Linked DNA regions of Homo sapiens: region 2 is linked to region 1. The links are contacts of gene promoters, found by promoter capture Hi-C in blood cells and fetal thymus (Javierre and others, 2016). All regions are on one chromosome and are shown on one strand. The core of a region is centred on a gene start or on the middle of the fragment in contact, and the rest is flanking DNA. Distances in the headings are between cores, read along the strand shown.

The links. Contacts are between HindIII fragments. The CHiCAGO score rates a contact against its expected background, and 5 or more counts as called.
Region 2: a fragment that was not itself captured here is called in contact with the fragment with the promoter of ZNF445 in region 1 in 8 of 17 cell types (monocytes, erythroblasts, total B cells and 5 more); the score reaches 8.7 in monocytes.

What each region holds. Positions count from the first base shown.
Region 1 is chr3:44,473,651-44,480,165 of GRCh38, reverse strand. It overlaps ZNF445 (zinc finger protein 445), which reads left to right and starts at 2,496. Exons shown (of 8, transcript NM_181489.6): 1 at 2,496-2,575. LOC101928529 (a long non-coding RNA gene) reads right to left here and starts at 2,476. Exons shown (of 4, transcript XR_940785.4): 1 at 1,957-2,476; 2 at 1,497-1,584. RefSeq lists silencers at 2,519-2,678, 2,699-2,748. The HindIII fragment of the contact is 9,006 bases long and covers 1-6,515 here.
Region 2 is chr3:44,341,369-44,347,883 of GRCh38, reverse strand. All of the region lies in intron 1 of TCAIM (T cell activation inhibitor, mitochondrial), which reads right to left. Among named protein-coding and RNA genes, the nearest start is that of TCAIM, 5.9 kb to the right of the region's middle. The HindIII fragment of the contact is 1,143 bases long and covers 3,173-4,315 here.

The DNA.
Region 1 (6,515 bases), core at 1,247-3,746:
CTACCAGGCCAATTTGTTTGCCCACAACTGATTCTTAGTTTTAACATCTTATCTCTTTTCTCAAGTCACATTCCAGATCCCCATCTCAACACCCCAATTTTTTCTTCCCCATTTCAAAATAAGAAGAAAAAAATTAAGGAGGAAATTTCCCCCTTCTGTTTGAAAGGCAGAATCCTGATACACTTTAAATTCCAAAACAAAGAAGCAAATGAACATGCAATCCTTTAGCATGTGGTTTTTACATGTAGCAAGGAATCAGGGTAAAAGGATAATTATCTACTTCCAGGTTCTCAAATGTTGGAATCATCTAGGGATTTTAAAATCTAGGCTTGTCAGTGTCTCACCCACAAAGATTTGGATTGAATTGATATGAGGTATGGACTTTTTAAAAGCTCTGAGGAGGATTCTAATCTGCAGCAAAGTTAAGAACCACTGATTTACATGCACAGTTCTTTGCTTCTCCAAGTGTGGTCCAAGAACTGCAATATGGGTACACCTGGAAGTTTGTTAAAAATATTCGTTGGTCCCTCCCCAGACCTCCTGAATTTGAATCTACAGTTTAACCAGATCCCAAGTGATTTGTATTCATATGCACATGAGAATTTGAGAATCTTACCTAGGGCTTTTACTAAGCAAACTGCCCCGATCTGAAAGAGTACAGTGCTCAGGAAGTACAGCTAGCAAGAATATGCCTCCTACCAGAAAAGTGAAGAAACCTCATGGTTATAGGCTCGAGTGCTGTGGCACTCGGAGAAATCAGGTATTAGCAGAACTTCGAGATTCAAGAAGCTGTATAGGTCTTAAAATCAGAGCTGCACTCCCAGTGGCTGCTTCCCGAACTTTGCAAGTGCTGGTGAAGCCAATTTGGTTGATCTGTTTGATCACACTAAATGTGGGTGCTATCCATGCTAACCACCTATCACGTTGAAAAACATCCAGTAAGTACATCCCAAACACAGAGAACCTGCTCAAACTCTTCTACGATGGGAAAATTTTGTTCTCAAACAAAACTTGAAAACTCTTCTCACCACTATGGGTGGTTCTGAGTCACTCAAGAACATTATATCGAGTGGAAATTAATGGACAAATTAGGCATTGACAAGCAGTTTCTATTTTCCTTTTTGTATGTGTTGGATATTTTCCAATTGCCCCTCCATATTCAGTCTCAGTCCTCAACCCTGCTGTGACACTTGGGAGACTGAGTTTCCTGGATTGCCCTCTGGCTTCCAGTTGAGTTGGGCCAATGGGAAGCCCTGGCAGGAGATCAGAAGAGAGCTGGGTTCAGGTTATTTATTACCTCAGCTTCCTTTGTGCTGGACTATGGCTTGGATGTAGCCCTCAACTGAAAGCCACAGTTTCTCTCAGATGGCCTGCTCCTAGGGGTGAGAATAGCTTCTAAATTTTGCTAGCCATGGGATTCTGCACCACTCCGTGTTGCATTTCCTTAACCCTGTCCACTTTGTGTAAATCGCCCCTTGTGAACTCTCCCCACTTACCTTGTTTGAATGTGCCATCTGTTTCTCTATCACCTTGTCACCATCTTCCTGGTGTTCAGGATCTATTCTCTGTTTCCATCTTTGGTGACTGGGGCATTAAAAAGGGGTGGATCAGATGAGTAAAGCAAAGCCTCAGGGCACAGATGGGCATCATCAATGCCCATCTGAAAGATCAATCGTCAACATGTTGCAGCCTGCCACTAGGAAGCACAAACCAGAGGACTACCAGGACAGCAGCTTGTAGCATGCCCTCCAATGGCAGCAGATGGCCTTATGGCTTTGGCTGTGCACCCTCAAGGTTCTCTGGCACTGGCAATAGATGACATTTGCTCCTACAGGGGGTGGGCAACCTCTCCAGGTTGCTTCACCTCCTCTTCAAGCAGCCCCTCCACCCCCTACCCCCAACCTACTCCTCCCAGATTCCACATATTATTGGGCAATGGCATCATTGTTCACTCACCAGGCGAGCCTAGTTAGAATTCACCCACAGGAGAAAACGAGTGAAGGCCGTGGGAAGCTAAAGTATGGTGCACCTCTGAGCTGGCTATGAACAAGTATTCCTGGGTATGGTGATGATGGGGATGAGCTCGTCTTGGAAAGGCAGGAGTTCTGGCACCTAGCTTCCCGTAGGATCTGGTTCCCCTCTTTGAAGTGTACCCAGGCGAAGAATGAGTGGCTCCCTTAACCCCTTCTCCTGGCCAGGACCAGTCTGCTAGATACTGCTGGCCCTATTTTCACCCCTAGCTTTGGATCCCTTTCTTCCCTGGAGGGAAAGAGGCCTTCAGGGCAGCCCCGCAGACACGACAGGAGGGATGCAAGAAAACAGGCGCGGCTGGGCATCCGAGCGTGGAAGGGAAATGTCCAACTGAGGGAGGTGAGGGATGTTGGACAAGCCCCGCCGCCCGCCGCACCGGAGCCGGAGAGAAGCAGAGACGTTGGGCCTCCCAGTTTCCTAGAGAGGCCGCGGAGGGCCCCGGGCGCCGACGCGCGTGCGCGACTGGAGCCGCCGGGAGGTAGGCGCGGGACGGGCGGCTGCGGTGGCGGCGGGTGGACCGATTGTCGCTCGGCGGCGGGAGTCGGTGAGAGGCCTGGCGGGGCGCGGGGGTGGGGGTGGCGGCATTGCGGGCGCGGGGCTCCCCGAAGTCCGCGGCATTCTCGGGCCTGCCCGGGCGGCGGACGGGGCCCGGCCTGGAGGCTGCGCCCGTGGCGGGGGTCTGGCGGTGGATCCCGCCCCCGCCACGCTGAGGGCGTATCTAGAACCTCTTTGCCTCCCAGGCGTCCGGGGTAGAGAATCTGGAGCCCGGGTTTCTCCGGGCTTTCTCGTTTCATCCAATTCTGCATATAAAGCGTATTTATCAGAGACAATTAGATAACACGGGAAAGTAGAAGAAAAGTAAAAGTAGCCGCAATCCTGAAATCTGTCTCCAGGCCTCCTGACATTTAAAATATCTGTGCATAATTCTGCACACTGACATCCATAAATATATATTACGAAATGAGAGCGTGCTCTTGCTTTTTAAAAAACCTGTTAGTATTATTGTGAGGAAACAATATTGTGCCAAAATAACACATAACATTTACCATACAATACATAAACGTTTACCATTTAACCATTTGGAAGTGTGTAATTCAGTGACATTAAGTATATCCATACTACTGCTTTTTAAAAATTATAATCTCCTGAATTTGTAGAATGCATTTGTTCTTATTTTGGCTAAAATTAGTGCTGGCATTATGACACCACTAAAACATTTTTTTTTTGGCGAGGATAATTAAGAAATCGTGTTTGCAGTTTATTTTCTGTAGGAGACACATTTGCATGAAGCTCTAAATGGTGAAGTGACATTTGTGCAGAAAAATAGCAAAATCTTGTTTGTCAGGGTGGTTATCTTTCACAATGAAGTAACTAGTATATAAAATGCAGTTTTTAAACAAAGGCAGAGCTCTAACCTGCAGCGATTGTAGCACACTCTGACTTGCACAGGCCTAAGAGATCAGAGTATTGTCTCCTTCCGAATTTAAAAGTGGTGGCCAGGAAAGAATGTTATTCTGTTTCAAACGGCTTGTAGTGCAAAACTAAAAACTCAGTATTAGGTTGGTTGTTTTGCAAGGAAGTGCCAGGGAGTGGTTTGAGCAGTAATTTGATTAAGCAGTTTCAGAGAGCCTCCATGTGTTGTGTGTGTGTCTGCGTGTGTGTGTGTGCATGCATGTGTGTGCATATTCAGGGACCAAAGAATTAGGCTGCTCTTTTATGTTATCTTAATGAAAGGCAGACACATTTTGGTTAGAAAAAAAAAAAAGTCTTACTGTAAGCCGAAAAGATGAGAATGTTTTGAAGATAAACCTCAGTATGCACTTAAAAAGGAAACTGACAAAAAGCATGAAAAATGGCAAGTATTCCACCGCTAGGTTTTCTCTGGCTTCCGGTATCCAGGAAGAATTAGTGCATAAGCAGTCTACGATGTCAGAGAGTAAACTATAGTAAAACATAACACTGTATTTTGCAATTTTCAAGATTTTGTATTAGAAACAATGTGAAAGAGTACATTTCTGTGACTCTCAGGCGAATTGTTAGGTGTTCTGTAAGATTGAATTTATGAATTTCTTTTTTTCCTTCCTATTCTTAAATTTATTTTCTTTTTCCTTGTTTATTTTATTTATTTTATTTTTGAGACGGAGTTTCACTCTTGTTGCCCAGGCTGGAGTGCAGTGGTGCAAACTCGGCTCACTGCAGCCTCCGCCTCCTGGGTTCAAGTGATTCTCCTGCCTCAGCCTCCCAAGTAGCTGGGATTACAGGTGTGTGCCACCACGCCCAGCTAATTTTTGTATTTTAAGTAAAGACGGGGTTTCACCGTATTGGTCAGGCTGGTCTCGAACTCCCGACCTCAGGTGATCTGCCTGCCTCAGCCTCCCAAAATGCTGGGATTACAGGCGTGAGCCACCGTGCCCGCCTCTTGTTTTATATTACTATGTAGCAGCTGTCACTGTTTAGCATACCACGAATCTGTCTCCTCATAGACGCCTCAAGGCAGTACTGGAACATACAGTAGGTTCTCAATAAATATATGACAAATTAATGAAAGAAGGAATCCAAATTGGTAGATAAAAATTGACAGTATTAAATGTCCTCGATTTTTAAGAGCCACTTACCAAGTTAATCTTTAATACCTGGCTGAGCATGGTGGCTCATGCCTGTAATCCCAGCACTTTGGGAGGCTGAGGTGGGTGGGTCACCTGAGGTCAGGAGTTCAAGACCAGCCTGGCCAGCATGGTGAAACCCCATCTCTACTAAAAATACAAAAAATTAGCTGGGCATGGTGGCGGGCACCTGTAATCCCAGCTACTTGGGAGGCTGAGGCAGGAGAATTGCTTGAACCCAGGAGGCGGAGGTTGCAGTGAGTGGAGGTCACGCCATCGTACTCCAGCCTGGGCAACAAGAGTGAAACTCCGTCTCAAAAAAACAAAACAAAACCTGTAATACCTAAAATGGAAATAAATCAGATAAAAATGATGATGACTGAATGACTGGAACTTCTCAATGTAAGATAAGACAAACCTTTTTTTTGAGACAGAGTTAACGCTCTTTCACCCAGGCTGGAGTGAAGTGGCATGATCTCAGCTCACTGCAACCTCTGCCCCGCCCCATCCCCTTTGAACAATTATCCCTCCTTAGCCTCCTGAGTAGCTGGGATTACAGGCATGCGCCACCACGCCCAGCTAATTTTCATATTTTTAGTCTCAAACTCCTGACCTCAGGTGATCCACCTGCCTCGGCCGTCCAAAGTACTAGGATTACAGGTGTGAGCCACCGCGCCTGGCCAGCAAACTTTTTATTTGGAATAATTGTAGACTTTCAGAGTTCTCTTACACCTTTTACCTAGTTTGTCTCAAGTTGCTATCTTGGATTACCATAGTACGTTCATCAAAATTAAAAAATTTACGTTGGTACAGTACTATTAATTAAACTGCAGACTTTTAAAAGTTTATTTAAGCATTCTTTTTCTGTTGTAGGCTCCAATCTAGAATTCCTCATTACGTTTAGTTGTCATGTCTACTTGGTCTGCTTCAATCTGTGACAGTTACTTAGTCTTTCAAAACACTTCTGAAGAAGTGTTTTATATTTGTTTTTTTGTTTGTTCTGTTTTTTGTTTGTTTGAGACGGAATTTTGCTCTTGTTGCACTGGCTGGAGTGCAATGGCGTGATCTCGGCTCACCGCAACCTCCGCCTCCCAGGTTCAAGTGATTCTCCTGCCTCAGCCTCTCGAGTAGCTGGGATTACAGGCATGTGCCACCAGGCCTGGCTAATTTTGTATTTTTAGTAGAGGCAGGGTTTCACCATGTTGGTCAGGCTAGTCTCAAACTCCCGACCTCAGGTGATCTGCCCACCTCAGCCTCCCAGAGTGCGAGGATTACAGGCATGAGCCACCGTGCCGGCCTTATATTTGTATTTTTATAAAGTCCCTCAATTTGGTTGCATCTCAAGTTTTCTGTCAAGTTTTACCACTGGAACCTTACTGTCTTTCTCCTAGTCATCAGTAATTATTTGGGGGAAGATAGTTTACTACTTTGCATATGAGATGCTGTTTCTCTTTGAACTTTGGTCTAAGTAGCATTCATTGATTGATCTTGCCTGCAGCAATGACTACTGTGGTGTTGGGATTTGACTTTCTCTTTCCTTCATTCCTTCTAGGCATTCATTGGATACTTACATACAATTCTCATTCATTCAAAGTATTAATTGGAATCTTTGTGAGGAAGAGTTATCCCTTCTCCCCTGTTATTTATTTATTCAATCAGTTATATTATTGTGTGCTTTGGATACTTATTTTATTCTTTGCACTAGAATGCAGTACTGTTGTTATTTTATTGCTGAAATTATTGTAGCTCTTTGACTATTGGGAGCTGTGTCTGTTTGCCCCGATTTTTTTTTTTTTTTTTAGTCCTTCCTTAGTTTTTGTTTTCTGGCACCCAAAACCCTTATATTTTTCCCTCCCCAGCCTGGCATCAGTCACTTCTCCA
Region 2 (6,515 bases), core at 2,495-4,994, 130 kb after region 1:
CTCCCCACCTTAATCCACAAGCATAGGACACCTCTACTCCCTTCTTGGTGACCAATCATGCACCCCCTTACCATCCCATTAAAAACTAATCACTCTTACCCTGCTTAAGGCCAATATCCCATCCCACAGCATACTTTAAAAGGATTAAAGCCTGTTATCACTTGCCTGTTACAGCATGGCCTTTTAAAGCCTATAAACTCTCCTTACAATTCCATTTTACCTGTCCAAAAACTGGACAAGTCTTACAGGTTAGTTCAGGATCTGTGCCTTATCAGCCAAATTGTTTTGCCTATCCACCCTGTGGTGCCAAACCCATATACTCTCCTATCCTCAATACGTCCCTCCACCACCCATTATTCTGTTCTGGATCTCAAAACATGCTTTTTCCACTATTCCCCTGCACTCCTCCTCCCAGCCCCTTTGCTTTTACCTGGACTGACCCTGACATCCATCAGTCTCAGCAACTTACCTGGGCTGTACTGCTGCAAGCCTTCAGGGACAGCCCCCATTACTTCGGTCAAGCCCTTTCTCATAATTTACTCTCTTTCTGTCCATCTACTTCACACCTTATTAAGTATTTTGATGACCTTCTACTATATAGCCCCTCCTATAAATCTTCCCAAGAGGACATCCTCCTGCTCCTCCAACATCTGTTATCAAAAGGATATCTCGTGTCGTCCTCCAAAACCCAAATTTCTTCCTCATCTGTTACCTATCTCGGCATAATTCTTCATAAAAACACACGTGCTCTCCCTGCTGATCGTGTCTGGCTAATCTCCAAAACCCCAACCCCTTCTACAAAACAACAACTCCTTTTCTTCCTAGGCATGGTTAGGTACTTCCGCCTTTGGATACCTAGTTTTACCATCCTGACTAAACCATTATATAAACTCACAAAAGGAAACCTAGCTGACACCATAAATCCTAAATCCTTTCCCTGCTCCCCTTTCCATTCCTTAAAAAACAGCCCTAAAAGCTGCTCCCATACTAGCTCTCCCTAACTCATCCCAACCCTTTTCATTACACACAGCCGAAGTACAGGGCTCTGTGGTCAGAATTCTTACACAAGAGCCAGGACTGCGCCCTGTAGCCTTTCTGTCCAAACAACTTGACCTTACTGTTTTAGCCTAGCCTTCATGTCTGCACGCGGCAGCTGCTGCTGCTCTAATACTTTTAGAGGCCCTCAAAATCACAAACTATGCTCAACTCACTCCCTACAATTCTCATAACTTCCATGTAGATTACAAGCCGCTAGCGTGCCTCTTAGAATCTCTCATTTCCTTTCCACCATGGACATTCTACCCTCAAGGAAATCATTTCTCAGTGTTCCATCTGCTATTCTACTACTCCTCAGGGATTGTTCAGGCCCTCTCCCTTCCCTACACATCAAGCTCGGGGATTTGCCCCTGCCCAGGACTGGCAAACTGACTTACTCACATGCCCCGAGTCAGGAAACTAAAATACCTCTTGGTCTGGGTAGACACTTTCACTGGATGGGTAGACGCCTTTCCCACAGGGTCTGAGAAGTCCACCGTGGTCATTTCTTCCCTTCTGTCAGACACAATTCCTTGGTTTGGCCTTCCCACCTCTATACAGTCCGATAATGGACCAGCCTTTACTAGTCAAATCACCCAAGCAGTTTCTCAGGTTCTTGGTATTCAGTAGAACCTTCCCCTTACCGTCCTCAATCTTCGGAAAAGGTAAAACGGACTAATGATCTTTTAAAAACACACCTCGCCAAGCTCAGCCTCCAACTTAAAAAGGACTGGACAATACTTTTACCACTTGCCCTTCTCAGAATTCGGGCCTGTCCTCGGGACGCTACAGGGTACAGCCCATTTGAGCTCCTATGGATGCTCCTTTTTATTAGGCCCCAGTCTCATTCCAGACACCAGCCTAACTTGGACTGTACCCCAAAAACTTGTCATCCCTACTATCTTCTGTCTAGTCATACTCCTATTCACCATTCTCAACTACTCATAAATGCCCTGCCCTTGTTTCCACTGCCGGTTTACACTTTTCCTTCAAACCATCATAACTGATACCTTCTGGTTTTACCTCAAACCACCACCCTTAAGTCTCTCTTAAAGTGGATAGATGATCTTGCTGGCAGGGTACACTCCAATACTTTCACCTTGATGAAGTCCTATTCTTTACTTTCATACTCACTCTTATTCTTGTTCCCGTTCTTATGCCACCCTCTACCTCTCCCCAGCTATCTCCACCACACTATCAATCTCACTCACTCTCTCCTAGCCGTTTCTAATCCTTCTTTAACAAACAATTGCTGGCTTTGTATTTCTCTTTCCTCCAAAATCGTGGAGGACTCGTTAGTCACTGCTAAAAAAAAAGGGGACTCTGTATATTAAACGAAGAGTGTTGTTTTTACCTAAATCAATCTGGCCTGGTATATGACAACATAAAAAAACTCAAAGATAGAGCCCAAAAACTTGCCAACCAAGCAAGTAATTATGCTGAACCCCCTTGGGCACTCTCTAGTTGGATGTCCTGGGTCCTCCCAATTCTTAAGTCCTTTAATACCTGTTTTTCTCCTTCTCTTATTTGGACCTTGCGTCTTCTGTTTAGTTTCTCAATTCATACAAAACCGTATCCAGGCCATCACCAATCATTCTATACAACAAATGCTCCTTCTAACAACCCCACAATATCACCTCTTACCACAGAATCTTCCTTCAGCTTAATCTCTCCCACTCTAGGTTCCCACGCCGCCCCAATCCTGCTCGAAGCAGCCCTGAGAAACGTCGCCCATTATCTTTCCATACCACCCCCAAAAATTTTCAGGGCCCCAACACTTTACCACTATTTTATTTTTCTTATTAATGTAAGAAGACAGGAATGTCAGGCCTCTGAGCCCAAGCCTGAACGTATACATCCAGATGGCCTGAAGTAACTGAAGAATCACAAAAGAAGTGAAAATGGCCGGTTCCTGCTTTAACTGATGACAATACCTTGTGAATTGAATTCCTTCTCCTGGCTCAGAAGCTCCCCGACTGAGCACCTTGTGACCCCCGCCCCTGCCCGCAAGAGAACAATCCCCTTTGACTGTAATCTTCCCCACTACCTACCCAAATCCTATAAAACTACCCCACCCCTAACTCCCTCTGCTCTCTTTTTGGACTCAGCCCGCCTGCACCCAGGTGAATAAAAAGCTTCATTGCTCTCTCCAAGCCTGTTTGGTGGTCTCTTCACACGGACGCGTGTGACAGTAATAAGGTCATTAGTGCCCTTATAAAAAGTCCTGTCCTCTGATCAAAACTATCAGAAAAAAGGAAAATTACAAAAAAGGAAAAAGAAAAAAGCCCCAGAGGGCTATCTTGCCCCCTACCATGTGAAGTTATAGCAAGACAACAAATCTGCAGACATCTTGATGTTGAATTTCCCAGACTCCAGAACCGCAAGAAATATATTTCTGTTGTTTTTAAGCTATCTGGTTTATGATAGTTTGACACAGCAGCTGAAGACTAAGATAGTATCCTTAATGACTTTTAATCATGGAGGATAAAGTATGTTGTGTGTAAGATGGAATTATGTAGCACATTTCAGAAGCATTTCAGAAGCATTTCTGAGGCTCGGTATGGTGGCTCATCCCTGTAATCATAGCACTTTGGGAGGTGAAAATGGGCAGGAGTTCAAGACCAGCCTGGCCAACATGGCAAAACCCCATCTCTGCTAAAAATACAAAAATTAGCTGAGTGTGGTGACACACGCCTGTAATTCCAGCTACTTGGGAGGCTGAGGCCTTGAGCCTGGGAGGTGGAGTTTGCAGTGAGCTGAGATTGCACCACTGCACTCCAACCGGGGTGATGGAGTGAGACTCTCTCAAAAAAAAAAAAAAAAAAGCATTTCCATCAAAAATAATCAAAGCAAAATAAAATTTGTGTAAAGTTCAAGGTCTTTAGTTATCCAGAAAAATACATTCATCCACTAATCGCTTTGTAATCACAGAGTATAACTAAACTACTACTGAGAAATGACTAATAAAGGACATTAGTGCTTAGAAATGTGACAATAGATTTTCTCAACAAAAATAAAATGTTACCAAATACAAATCTAAACATTAAATCATGGTTTCCAGATTTAGAAAGAGAGCACTAAAAAAATGACAGGTTGAGAATTAGGTGTTTTCTATCTGCTTATTTTGTGAGCAAGCTATTTCCTAAAAAGGTTTACATTTCAGTAGAGTAATAGAATTACAATCTAGGCCTCTGCTGTCTAAAACAGTAGGCAGCCACTAGCCACATGTAGCTACTGTGCACTTGAAATGTGGTTAGTCTAAATAGAGATGTGTTAAGCTTAACATACCCACTGGATTTAAAAGATTCAGTACAAACAATGGAAAGTATCTCAGTAATAATTTTTCATATTGGTTATGTGTTGAAATTATAATTTATTAAAATTAATTTCACTTTTACTTTTTAAAAAGTAAAACATCTAGTTTTTAGAAAATTTTAAATTATATCCAAGGCTTACATTCTATTTTTATTGGATTGTGCTGATCTAAACACTTCCAGTGAATGTGACTGTCAAAGTAGGTAGTTTGCATAATGGTTAGGAAATGGAGGCTAGGGGGCTTGAGATTTGTATTCAAATCTTGACATCTTCAGTGACTGTGTGAGCAAGGGCAAGTTACGTTACCTTCTGGAGTCTGTTTCCTCATCTCTTAAATAACATAGATGGTTAAGAAAAGTCTGTTGTAACACCAAAACATTTCTTCTTTTTTTTTTTTGAGACAGAGTCTCGCTCTGTCACCTGCGCTATAGTGCAGTGGCATGATCTCGGCTCACTGCGACCTCTGCCTCCCAGGTTCAAGCGATTCTCGTGCCTCAGCTTCCCGAGTAGCTGGGATTACAGTCGCCTGCCACCGCACCCAGCGAATTTTTGTATTTTTAGTAGAGATGGAGTTTCTCCATGTTGGCCAGGCTGGTCTCGAACTCCTGACCTCAGCTGATCCTCCTTCCTCGGCCTCCCAAAGTGCTGAGATTACAAGCCTGAGCCACTGTGTCCAGCCTTAAAATGTTTATTTAATGTGAATCAGCTTATATGCAATTGGTCAATAGGGGAAAGACTTATATATGCACTTTACCCCCAACATATTACTGATTTGAAGTGATCAGAGGTAGGCTTTCTACAATTTAAAAAAAAAAAAAAGGCTTTAGTGATATGTAAAGACCTTAAGGAAAAAAAATCTCCTGGTATTTCTTTCTTTTGGTTTAAGAAGCAGATGTTTAGTGGGTTCAAGTCTGGCTACATTTTCCACTTCATCAAACCATCTGGCAATGTGCTAGGATAAACGAAAAAGCTAGAGATTTCCAAGTCTTTTAAAAAAAAATTTGATTGATAAATAAAGCTACTCCTAGATTAGAATGTTAATCTTGATGAAACTGGTCTAAACTAGATTTAATTTTACTACCATGTTTATTAGGGTTAGGGTTTTTGTTAGGGCTCTTATAAAATTTTGTTCAGTTTTGAGTGGTGTGTGCTTTTTCTCCACAAACTGTTACTTTTGCTTATTGTTTGGCAGCATGTCAGGATTTCCAGGAATGCAAGAATGGCATTACAGCAGAAACATGTGGATATATATAAACATTCTGTCCCCACTCCAAACTGCCTTTTAATTCTGAATCTTAAGTTTTCATTAACTGAGAGAATACTTTGAGCTAACACAATGCTAATCTGCTAGACAGGAGTACAATTTAGTAAATGAAATTAGTGAATATTTTATTGAATTTTGTCTTTATTTTATAAAAAAGAAAAATTACAATTCTAATACTAGTAATAAAGAATACGAAATGAAATACAAATGAGAAAACGTTATCTATATTGATATTTGGTCTGTATCTGATGCTCACTGAAGTTATCTGGACAGCACATTTAAGATAAAATGGTGGAAAGACACAGACAAAATGCTAGAAATATTCAATAAGACTTTTCTAAAAGGTGAAATCTAATTTAGAACCTAATAATGATGTTTAAGCACTGTGGATGTGGAATCCCACATCTGACTTTGTGTATGTGTTTTCAGGGGTACATCACTTATGAAAGTAGGGGCTATCTTTTTCATAGAACTTTTGTGAAGCTTAAGTAGAATATGCATAAGGGATTTAGCCACATTTAGTAAATAAAAAATTCATTACAGTTGCAACTATTATTATGTCAGAGTGTATTAAAAAATGGCATAATTTTTTTCCATCTAATGTCAGATAACATATTGCTCAAACATGCAGTTCAATACAACATTTTATTCAAAAACAAATTTTGAAAAACTTTGTTGAAAAACTCAGAATTATCACAATAAGGAGTCAATGTCTGAAGGTCTTAAACACAAGGTAGTAGGCAATTTTGCCAAGGCTACATACAATTCAAAAAGTACAGATGAATAATTTCACAAATTTTTCTCTAGAAAAATACTTTTAATTCATCAGAATTAAAAAATAGCTAGTTGTTTACTTTTACCATTTGAAGACAAAGGTGGCACTTGCTAACCAATAAAAACA